Regions from separate parts of the Homo sapiens genome. Here regions 2 and 3 are each linked to region 1. Evidence: promoter capture Hi-C in 16 types of primary human blood cells and fetal thymus (Javierre and others, 2016). All regions are on one chromosome and are shown on one strand. Each heading gives the region's core, a stretch centred on a gene start or on the middle of the fragment in contact. The rest is flanking DNA. Distances are from core to core; before and after follow the strand shown. Region 1 holds the start of BRAP (BRCA1 associated protein). Region 2 overlaps ATXN2 (ataxin 2). Region 3 overlaps ATXN2 (ataxin 2).

The links. The method cuts DNA at HindIII sites, captures the fragments that hold promoters and counts their contacts. A CHiCAGO score of 5 or more calls a contact.
Region 2: a contact is called between a fragment that was not itself captured here and the fragment with the promoter of BRAP in region 1, in 2 of 17 cell types (erythroblasts and megakaryocytes). The highest score is 6.4, in erythroblasts.
Region 3: a contact is called between a fragment that was not itself captured here and the fragment with the promoter of BRAP in region 1, in 3 of 17 cell types (megakaryocytes, erythroblasts and endothelial precursors). The highest score is 7.4, in megakaryocytes.

The regions. Positions count from the first base shown.
Region 1 is chr12:111,684,011-111,687,974 of GRCh38, forward strand. It overlaps BRAP (BRCA1 associated protein), which reads right to left and starts at 1,946. Exons shown (of 12, transcript NM_006768.5): 1 at 1,701-1,946. The coding sequence starts at 1,782. ACAD10 (acyl-CoA dehydrogenase family member 10) reads left to right here and starts at 2,043. Exons shown (of 21, transcript NM_025247.6): 1 at 2,043-2,229. RefSeq lists enhancers at 269-970, 971-1,672, 1,673-2,374 and a silencer at 1,719-1,818. The HindIII fragment of the contact is 2,811 bases long and covers 1,149-3,959 here.
Region 2 is chr12:111,476,442-111,480,405 of GRCh38, forward strand. The region is part of intron 18 of ATXN2 (ataxin 2); the gene reads right to left. Among named protein-coding and RNA genes, the nearest start is that of SH2B3, 73 kb to the left of the region's middle. The HindIII fragment of the contact is 2,052 bases long and covers 1,137-3,188 here.
Region 3 is chr12:111,505,308-111,509,271 of GRCh38, forward strand. The region is part of intron 14 of ATXN2 (ataxin 2); the gene reads right to left. Among named protein-coding and RNA genes, the nearest start is that of ATXN2, 92 kb to the right of the region's middle. The HindIII fragment of the contact is 4,535 bases long and covers 23-3,964 here.

The DNA.
Region 1 (3,964 bases), core at 696-3,195:
GTAGGGGTAGTCTTAAACATCCTGGCTTATGCTCATGCCATGAACCAAGCCATGAACATCTGTGATTACTGTCTTAAATCAATGAAACACATGAAAAGGGAAACGGAATTTGGAGACTTAACTGAAATATCCCTAATACATGCTCTGTCAGGGCAGGGACAAGGCCTGTTTTGCCCACCACTGTATTCCCAGCCCTTATACCACAGTGCCGAGCACACAGAGGAAGCCCTCTAAATGTTTGATGAATAAATGACTACATGACTGACCCATGCAGATGTCTATATGCGGCTAATATCAATTTAGCTGACTCTCAGAACTCAGAAGCCACTTTTAGCCTTTGGAAAGGTGCTCATAAGCTATAAAGTCATATTCAATCTTTAATTTGCAGCTTCAAAGGTCACGTCCTCAGGAAGTTCCCAATGACACCATCCCTACCTGCCCCCATCCCTCTCTCCAAACCAAACACATCTTCTTGTAATACTTTCCCAAATTGTTTCTCCTTTCCTTCACAGCACTTACCACAGTTGTAATTCTACACATATTCTGCACTTATTTAATTCATCTGTTTCCTCCATGATACTGCTGGTGCCATTAAAACAGAGACGCTGTCTGATTCAGCACACAAGGAAGGCTCCAGCAGATATGAGCATAAGTTTTTTTTTTGTTTTTTTTTTTGAAATGGACTTTATCTCTTGTCGCCCAGGCTGGAGTGCAGTGCCACAATCTTGGCTCACCGCAACCTCCACCTCCCGGGTTCAAGCGATTCTCCTGCCTCAGCCTCCCCAGTAGCTGGGATTACAGGCACCTGTCACCACGCCCAGCTAATTTTTGTATTTTTAGTACAGACAGGGTTTCACCATGTTGGCCAGGCTGGTCTTGAACTCTCAACCTCAGGTGACCCGCCCGCCTCGGCCTCCCAAAGTGTGAGGATTACAGGCGTGAGCCACCGCGCCCGGCCAAGTATTTCTTGAATGAATGTTAGTTAATTATCTGAGGACCAAGGAACAGAGCCAGAGCTGCATTCCCCACTAAGGAGCTTCCTCACTTGTGTTAATGGTGTAAAAAGCTCAGACTCAAGTCCAGCTCACTGAGTTAGAATCCCAGTTTCACCCATTACAGATAACCTTGGGCAAATCAATTAATCACTAAGCTTCAGTTTCCCAATGTGTAAGAGGTACATGTCACATCCATCTGCCTCTTAGGGCTGTTGCAAAGATAATTAAAGAATACAATACACAAAAGGTGCTTAGTACAGTGCTGGGATATAGGAAGTGTCCAAATTTTAGTTATGACTATGGTTAGGGGGCACTTCAATGGATATCGTTCCAAAAGGGAACAATTTAATTAACCCAGGGACCGTCCAGCGTTGCTGGGGACCCAGTCCCTGCCTTTACGAAGCCCATAGGGAAGCAAGTGAGACAAACACACCACTCGACTATCTCGAGAGGGAGACGCGCCAGGTATAAACTAAATGCCCTCAGACGGCACAGGGAGGGAGGTTCGGGGCAGGGCTTCCCTGAGATAACAAACGGGAAGGCCTCTCAAAGGCGGATGGGAAAGAGAGGGATCCCGATTACCTCTCCGTGTCTTCCTGGGCAACAGCCCTCGCCGCGGGCTTTTCCCGGGCCAGTGCTTTGGGAAGGGAAGCCCTCCGGGCCCAGACCCGGCTACAGGGAATGCGGCGAGGCCGCGGGACTCACCCGCGGCGCTGAAGCCGAAGCCGGCGGGGACAGGCGAGTGTTCCGCGAGCTCCAATCGGATAACAACCAGTGACACACTCATAGGGCAGGCGCTGGCCGGCGCGGGCCCCGGCGGGCTCAGGCGAGGCTGGAAGGCGAGCCGAGAGGCCGAGCGGCCCGGGGCCGGCAGCGCCGCCACCACCTCAATGCAGTTGCCGCCGCCTCAGCAGCAGCAGCTCCTCGAACAGCCCTCGGAGCCACAACAACCTCCACTTCCGCCTCCCGGCCGCCGTCGCTGACCTGCGGTTTACGCATGCGCGCAGGACCGCGCACAGCGATTGGGCGGCGTGGCAGGGGTCACCCACTGCTCTTCCGGACGCAATTTTGAGGAGGTCGGAGCGGAAGGACGTCGTGGAGATTGCTTGCGCTGGGGTGCCACACTTAGGCTGAGCTGCAGGTTTTCGCACAGTCGCGAGTTAACCTCTGCTTGCTCCAGAGGCCTCGTCCTAATCCACCTCGGCTGACGGCGCGGGATCCCTGGCTCCGCGAGGTCTCCGAATTGTCCGAGCTATCTGCTATGCAGAACTTTGCCCCTTTTGTTGTGTTTGACTCCTGTCTCTAACCCTAGTCTGGATGGTTTTGTTTCTGTCCCACTTTACAGATAGGTACAACGAGGCTCAGAGAGGTGAAGTTCCTTCTAAGGGGCCGTAGAGAGTGGAGAGTCGATCGCTGTTCAGATAGCGATCTGGCTGGGCGCGGTGGCTCACGCCTGTAATCCCAGCCCAGAGGCTTAGGCGGGCGAATCACCTCAGGTCAGCAGTTCGAGACCAACCTGGCCAACATGGTGAAACCTCGTCTCTACTGAACATACAAAAAATTAGCCGGGCTTGGTGGCGCGCGTCTGTAGTCCAAGCTACTTGGGAGGCTGAGACAGGAGAATCGCTTGAACCCGGGAGGCGGAGGTTGCAGTGAGTCGAGATAGTGCTAGTGCACTCCCGCCTGGGCAACAAGAGCGAAACTCCGTCTCAAAAAAAAGAGAGAAAAGATGGTGATCTGCTGGTTACGAGCATAGTGCTGCAGTTAGACCGGGGTCCTCCTCCCCACCCTGTCACTTCACAAATGTTTACTGAGAGTCTAGACACCCTTGGGATGCTTGAGATACGTTGGCGTATAAGATAAACACAGTTCCTGTCCGTACTATGAGGTTGACCTACATCAGCAGTTGTGCAGTCTTGAACTAGTATAGTCATTGCATAAAGTTGGCATGATATCATGTCCTCATGCAGTTGTGAGGATGAAATGGAATTATGTATATGGAGATAACATTAGCTTTTCTGAGGCTCAGCATTCTTTCCAGTATGTCAGAGTGGCTTTTGTATGTAGATACTGACACAATCAATGCATATGGGACACATACATGACAGGATGCTACTCTAGGTACATTGTATAATGATACATATGTAAGTACATAGTACATTCTAGATGTGTGTGTGTGTGGACATAGTGCGTTCTAGATGTGTGTGTATCTGGACTATGACATGACCACAAGATACATGCGTATATAGATCTTGTGACTACATCCTATGAAATACGTTTCCATATGCCCTGTTTAAATCAGGGTTTCTCAACTCTGCACTATTAACATTTTGGGTCCTGATTATTCTTTTTTGTTTTTGGCAAGGGGGCGGGGTGTCCTGAGCATTGTAGAGTGTTTAGAAACATCCCTGGCCTGACCCACTAGATGTCAGTAGCACCTCTCCCCAGGTGGTGACAACCAATAATGTCTCTGGACCTTTCCAGATGTCTCCTTGGGGTTAGAAAACATAACCCTGTTGAAGAATCACAGGGTTATGTGAAAGTGCATAAACCATACACACATACTGTATGCATAAAACCTATGAGACCTCTTGTGAACTTTTTTAGTATATTACTATAGTAGATAACATTTCAACATGTGCCAGGTACTAATTTGAGTGTTTCATATACCTTGTGTCATGCAATGGTCACAACAACTTTATGAAACTGGTACTATGTCCCTGTTCTACAGAGGAGTAACCTGAGGCTTGGAGGAAGAGTAACTGGCTCAGGATTTCACAGGTAGTAGTGGCAGAGCTGGAACTGAAATTCAGGCAATCTGAATCCAGAACGAACATTCTTTATCTCTTTACCAAACAAACCTTTTTTTTTTTTTGTATTTTGAGACGGAGTCTCACTCTGTCGCCCAGGCTGGAGTGCAGTGGTGCCATCTCGGCTCACTGCAACCTCGGCTTCCTGGGTTCAAGCTT
Region 2 (3,964 bases), core at 913-3,412, 210 kb before region 1:
TGCACCAGTACAATAAGACAAAAAAAAAAAACCCAAAAACACCAACATGGTGATTAGATCATGATTGTATGTTTAAGTCTTAAAGGGCTGCCAGAAACAGTGGGTTTACCAACACATCAAGACACAAGGTCAATATTCAAAAATCAAGTGCATCTCTATTTACGAATAAACAAACGTTGAAAGTTTTTAAAATATAACTCACAACAGCACAAAACAGATGAAATATTAAGGGATAAATTTAAGAAAGCAGGCACAAAACTGATACAAAGAAAACTAGAAAACACTGGTGAAACTTAAGACTTAAATAAATGGAGCAGTATATGATGACCTCAATGAAGATTCCATATTGTTAAGATATTTCTCCCAGAACTGATATAAAGATTCAGTGCACAATCCCAAGCTGATTCTAAAATTTATTTGCAAATTCAAAGAACGCAGAATAAGAGTAATTTTGACGAGAATAAAACTGGGAGACTCATATGAACTTAAAGGTTGGTTACAAAGTAACAGCAATAAAGAGAGAATTGGCATAAGGATATATACAAAGATCAATACAACAAAACAGTTCACAAATAGACACACATACAATACAGTCAACTGAATTCAATAAAGCTACTATGGCTGGGCGCAGTGGCTCATGCCTGTAATCCCAGAACTTTGGGAGGCTGAGATGAGCAGATCACCTGAGGTCAGGAGTTCGAGACTAGCCTGGCCAACATGGTGAGACCCTGTCTCTACTAAAAAAAAAAAAAAAAAAAATACAAATTAGCTGGGTGTAGTGGCGGGCACCTGTAATCCTAGCTACTCGAGAGGCTGAGGCAGAATCGCTTGACCCTGGGAAGTGGAGGTTGCAGTGAGCCAAGGTCACACTACTGCACTCCAGCCTGGGTAACAAGATCGAGACTCTTGTTTCAAGAACAGAAAAAAAATAAAGCCACCAATGGAAAACAGAGGCTGGTGCCAGAGAAACCGAGTAAATATTTATGGTGGAGAAAATGAAGCTAGACCTTTACATCACACCCTACACAAAACCTAACCTGAAATCAACCATATACCTAACCATAAAAACATTCATAACCTAGGGTACGTAAAAGATTTCTTATTATGATACAAAAAAGCATGAACCTTAAGAGAAAAGCTTGATAAATAAGGCTTCATTAAAATTAACAATACTGGCTCTTCAAAAAAAACCGCAGACTGGGAGAAAATATTCACAATATTCTGAGAAAGGACTTGTAACCAGAATATATAAATAACTTAAAATAATTTACTAAAAGTAGTAACTTTATTTTCACAGTAAGAAAAGAAACATGACTTTTTTTTCTTTTTTTTGTGAGACAGGGTCTGGCTCTATTGCCCAGGCTGGAGTGCAGTAGTGCAATCTCAGCTCACTGCAACCTCGATCACCCCTCCATCGCCCTCCAAACCCCCGCAACCTCGCTCAAGCGATTGTCCCACCTCAGCCCCCCAAGTAGCTGGGACCATAGGAATGCGCTTCTGTGCCTGGCTAATTTTTCTTTTTTCTTTTTTTTTTTTGCAAAGACAGGGTTTTGTCATGTTCCTCAGGCTGGTCTCAAACTGTTGGCTCAAATGATCCATCCAGGTTGGCCTCCCAAAGTGCTGGAATTACAGGCGTGAGCCAGTGCACCCAGGCAGAAACATTGAGACAAAAAGAAATTATTAGGACAGGCGCAGTGGCTCACACCTGTAATCTCAGCACTTTGGGAGGCCGAGGCAGGTAGATCACCTGAGGTCAGGAGTTAGAGACCAGCATGACCAACATGGTGAAACCCCACCTACACTAAAAATACAAAATTAGCCAGGCATGGTGGCGCATGCCTGTAATCCCAGCTACTTGGGAGGCTAAGGCGTAAGAATTGCTTGAACCTGGGAGGCGGAGGTTGCAGTGAGCCAAGATGGCACCACTGCGTTCCAGCCTGGGCAATAGAGTGAGATTCCATCAAATAAATAAATAAATAAATAAAATGGAAAAAAGATTTGAACCATTTACTAAAAAAAGGTTGACAGCTGAAAACAAACACACACATGATGAGGTGCTCCTGGATCAGTCATCATCAGAGAAATGTACATTTAAGATCACAATGAGATACCATAAGACACCCATTAGACCTGTTGAAATTAAAAAGATAACACAATACCAAGTGTTGGCAAGGATGCAGAACACATGGAACCTACACATGTACCTGATCAGTTGGAATGTAAAATGACACAATCACTTTAGAAGATTGCTAGTTTCTTATTAATTGAAATATGTATTTACCAGGCAGTGTGTGGTGGCTCACATCTGTAATCCCAACACTTTGGGAGGCTGGGGCGGGTGGATCACTTGTGGTCAGGAGTTCGAGACCAGCCTGGCCAACGTGGTGAAACCCCGTCTCTACTAAAAATACAAAAAAATTAGCCAGGCATGGTGGTGCGCGCCTGTAATCCCAGCTACTTGGGAGGCTGAGGCGGGAGAATTGCTTGAACCCGGGACAGGGAGGTTGCCATGAGCTGAAATCACGCCACTGAACTCCAGCCTGGGCAACAGAGTGAGACTTCATCTCAAAAAAAATAAATAAATAAAAAATAAAATAAATTTTTTAAAAAAATGAAATATGCACTTACCATACCTCAGCAATTCCAATTCTAGGTATTTAACTAAAAGAAATAAAAACACAAACACTTGTACACAAATGCTCACAGCAGCTTCATTCATAATAGCCAAAAGCTGGCAATAACTCAAATGCCCATCGACTAGTAATGGGTAAATTAACTGTGGTATAATCATAAAATGAAATGCTACCCAGCAATAAAAAGGAATAAGCTGGCTGGGCACGGTGACTCACACCTGTAATCCCAGCACTTTGGGAGGCCAAGGCAGGTGGATCATTTGGGGTCAGGAGTTTGAGACCAGCCTGGCCAACATGGTGAAATCCCGTCTCTGCTAAAAAAAAAAAAAAAAAAAAAAAAAAGAGAGAGAGACAAAAATTAGCCAGGTGTGGTGGCACGTGCCTGTAATCCCAGCTACTTGGGAGGCTGAGGCAGTGGAATTGCAGACCAATTCTGGGACACAGAACAAGACTCCATCTCAAAAACAAACAAACAAACAAAAAGGAATAAGCTGATACTAACATGAAATTCAAATTACTACACTGTTTAGGACACACATATGAAATTATATACCAAGCTTGTCCAACTTGCGTCCTGGGACGGCTTTGAATGTGGCCCAACACAAATTCATAAACTTTCTTAAAACATTATAAGTTTTGCTATTTTTTTTTGTTTTGTTCATCAGCTATCATTAGTGTTACTGTATTTTATGTGTGGCCCAACACAATTCTTCTTCCAATATGACCCAGGGAAGCCAAAAGATTGAACACCTCTGTTACACGCTGTTTGATTCCATTTATTAAAAAAAAAAAAAAAATCTAGGGGCTGGCTGAGGTGGCTCACATCTGTAATCCTAGCACTCTGGGAGGCTGAGGTGAGCTCAAGAGTTCGAGACCAACCTGGGCAATATAATGAGACGTCTCCAAAAAAAGATTTTTTTACGTAAAAAAAGAAAAAAAAAAACCTAATCAAAAAAAAAAAAAGAAAAAGAAATCTAAAGAGGATAAATCTAATCTATAGTAAAAGAAGGCAGATTACTGGTTAACTGGAGCTAGTGGTAATAAAGTACAGTTGGACAGAGAAGAGGAACAGGCACAATGTTTTCCATCTTCACTGATGAAGCAAGTAGTTACATGAGCAAATATATTTGTCAAAACTCATTAAAATGTAAACATAAAAAGATGAGCATTTTCTTGTATGTAAATTACAGACTAATAAAACTGGTTAAAACATTTTGGATAGTCATTTAGAACAAGATAAATTGGATTCACATTTTATACTTTAAGATAAATTCTAAAATTAGCCAGGCATAATGGTACAGGCTGGTCTCAAACTCCTGAGCTCAAGTGAT
Region 3 (3,964 bases), core at 1,040-3,539, 180 kb before region 1:
TTTTCTTAGATACGACACCAAAAGCTTACTTCAAAATCAGATAAATTGGACTTCATCAAAATTAAAAATTTTTGTGCTTCAAGGGATGAAAAAGTAAAAAGACAACCAACAGAACAGGAGAAAACATTTGCAAACCATGTATCTAACAGGGACTTGTACACACAATATATAAAGAACTCCCACAACCCAATAATAAAAAGACAACTCAATTTTTAAAATGGGTAAAGATTTGAACAGACATCAATCCAAAGAAGATATATAAATGGCCAATAAACACAAAAGATGTTCAACATCATTAGCCATGAAAGAACTGCACATTAAAGCCACAATGAGGTTAACACTTCACACCCACAAGGATGACTATAATCAAAAAAGACAAGACAATAAGTGTTAGCAAGGATGTGGAGAAACAGAAACCCTCATACCCTGCTGGTGGGAATGTAAAATAGTGTAGATATCTTGGCAAATAGCTTGGTAGTTCCTCAAAAGGTTAAACACAGTTGCCATATGACCCAGCAATTCAACTCCTAGGTAGGTACACAAAAGAAATGAAAAGATAGGACGAGAAAAAAACTGCACACTCATGTTTGTGGCAGTGTTATTCAGAATAGTCAAACAGTGAGAACACCACAAATAGCTACAAACTGATTAATGGATAAACAAAATGTGGTATTATCCACATCAAGGAATATTAGTCAGTCACAAAAAGAAATGAAGTACTGAAACATGCTCCAACATGGATGAACTTTTATAACACTACTCTGAGTGAAAGAAGCCAGTCATAAAAGCCACATATTTTATTATTCCATTTGTATGAAATGGAATTTGCCCCAAATAAGCCCATCCATAGAGACAGAAAGTAGATTAACGGTTGCTTAGGGTTGGGAGTAGGGGAAAGAGAAGGGCTGGAGGCAAATGTGGAACGACTGCTAAACTGGGCACGGGGTTTCTTTTGGGGGTGAAGAGTATGTTTTAAAATCAACTGAGAAGACGGTTGTACAACATTGTGAATATTTTAAAAACCACTGATTTATACACTTTAAATGGTTGATTTATATATGTAAATTATATCTCATTAAAAACCACTGATTTATACACTTTAAACGGTTTATTTATATATGTAAATTATATCTCAATAAAGCTGTTATAAAAACATGCTAATTCACATGCTTCAAAGTAGAAATGTTTTTTCTTCATGAGATATTAAATTCAATCCAAGTGTAGTATAAGAGGAGACTGAATGATGTTAAAAAAAATAATGCTGAGGAAAAAATTCAAATGGGGAAGAATACCTACAGCAAGACATCATTGTCCCTCTCCCTCTCCCCCCCTCCCCCTCCCCCTCCTTCTCCTTCTCCCCACGGTCTCCCTCTCCCTCTCTTTCCACGGTCTCCCTCTGATGCCGAGCCGAAGCTAGACTGTACTGCTGCCATCTCGGCTCACTGCAACCTCCCTGCCTGATTCTCCTGCCTCAGCCTGCCTAGTGCCTGTGATTGCAGGCCCGCGCCGCCACGCCTGACTGGTTTTCGTATTTTTTTGGTGGAGACGGGGTTTCGCTGTGTTGGCCGGGCTGGTCTCCAGCTCCTAACCGCGAGTGATCTGCCAGCCTCGGCCTCCCGAGGTGCCGGGATTGCAGACGGAGTCTCGTTCACTCAGTGCTCAATGGTGCCCAGGCTGGAGTGCAGTGGCGTGATCTCGGCTCGCTACAACCTCCACCTCCCAGCCACCTGCCTTGGCCTCCCAAAGTGCCGAGATTGCAGCCTCTGCCCGGCCGCCACCCCGTCTGGGAAGTGAGGAGCGTCTCTGCCTGGCCACCCATCGTCTGGGATGTGAGGAGCCCCTCTGCCCGGCTGCCCAGTCTGGGAAGTGAGGAGCACCTCTTCCCGGCCGCCATCCCGTCTAGGAAGTGAGGAGCGTCTCTGCCCGGCCACCCGTCGTCTGAGATGTGGGGAGCGCCTCTGCCCCGCTGCCCCGTCTGGGATGTGAGGAGCGCCTCTGCCCGGCCGCGACCCCGTCTGGGAGGTGAGGAGCGTCTCTGCCTGGCCGCCCCGTCTGAGAAGTGAGGAGCCCCTCTGCCCGGCAGCCGCCCCGTCTGAGAAGTGAGAAGCCCCTCCGCCTGGCAGCCACCCCGTCTGGGAAGTGAGGAGCATCTCCACCCGGCAGCCAACCCGTCCGGGAGGGAGGTGGGGGTCAGCCCCCGCCCGGCCAGCCGCCCCATCCGGGAGGGAGGTGGGGGGTCAGCCCCCGCCCAGCCAGCCGCCCCGTCCGGGAGGTGGGGGGCACCTCTGCCCGGCCGCCCCTTCTGGGAAGTGAGGAGCCCCTCTGCCCGGCCACCACCCCGTCTGGGAGGTGTACCCAACAGCTTATTGAGAACGGGCCATGATGACAATGGCGGCTTTGTGGAATAGAAAAGGGGGAAAGGTGGGGAAAAGATTGAGAAATCGGATGGTTGCTGCGTCTGTGGAGAAAGAAGTAGACATGGTAGACTTTTCATTTTGTTCTGTACTAAGAAAGATTCTTCTGCCTTGGGATCCTGTTGATCTATGACCTTACCCCCAACCCTGTGCTCTCTGAAACATGTGCTGTGTCACTCAGGGTTAAATGGATTAAGGGCGGTGCAAGATGTGCTTTGTTAAACAGATGCTTGAAGGCAGCATGCTCGTTAAGAGTCATCACCACTCCCTAATCTCAAGTACCCAGGGACACAAACACTGCGGAAGGCCGCAGGGTCCTCTGCCTAGGAAAACCAGAGACCTTTGTTCACTTTTTATCTGCTGACCTTCCCTCCACTATTGTCCTATGACCCTGCCAAATCCCCCTCTGCGAGAAACACCCAAGAATGATCAATTAAAAAAAAAAAAAAGACTTTATAGCAAATTTAAGATTATGCAAAATATCATCTATTGCTCACAGATATATTCATATGCAGTATAAATATAAAGAACTGCACAGAAAAGAAACCCTTCCTTTTGGAAGGAAACAGGGGGAAGCAGCTGAGGAGGGGCAGATACATAAGAGGAGTTTAACTGTGTTAGAATGCTTTATTTACTAAGCTGGGTAGTGGGCACATGATCATATTCAATATTCTTTGTATCATTTGTATGTGTTAACTATTGTTTAACAAATTGAAAAACTTTTTTTTTTTTTTTTTTTTTTTGAGATGCAGTCTTGCTCTGTCGCCCAGGATGGAGTGGAGTGGTGTGATCTCGGCTCACTGCAACCTCTGTCTCCTGGGTTCAAGCGATTATCCTGCCTCAGCCTGCCAAGTAGCTGGGATTACAAGTGTGCGCCACCATGCCTAGCTAATTTTTCTATTTTTGGTCAAGACAGGGTTTCACCATGTTGACCAGGCTGGTCTCGAACTCCTGACCTTAGGTGATCTGCCCACCTCGGCCTCCCAAAGTGCTAGGATTACAGGTGTGAGCCACCGTGCCCGCCAACAAATGAAAACTTAGGTTAACAACTGTTAATAGCATTAAAGCTGAATAGATACATGTGCTAAAGTATGAAATAATAAGTAGTATTTTGAATGTTACCAATAAGTCAAGAATGAAGCTATTGTTAACATTTAGAAAGCTAAAACACAGGCTGAGGAAAGGCTACCTTTGCCTTTGGTTCACTCATCCTTTAATTCAGCTACTTTTTTTAAAAGGCTGGTATTTAGATTTTCCTTTCTAAGAAGCTAAGTTTCAAGAAGATTTATTGGTTGGTCTCAAAATCTACCTCGATACCTATAGTAAATAACATGCAAAAGAATGAAATGACAATCAAGGAGAGATGTTAAGTAAAGCCTGTGCTAAGACAGAGAAATAATGTTACAGAAAGATTTTGACCACAATATATTTGTGTACAAAGTATAAATCTCCAACTACCTCAGAACACCAGAGTCCAGTACATCTTCCATTTGCCACACTAGATTATTAATGACTTGGCCTTGCTCTACTAATATCTAGCTTCACTGAAC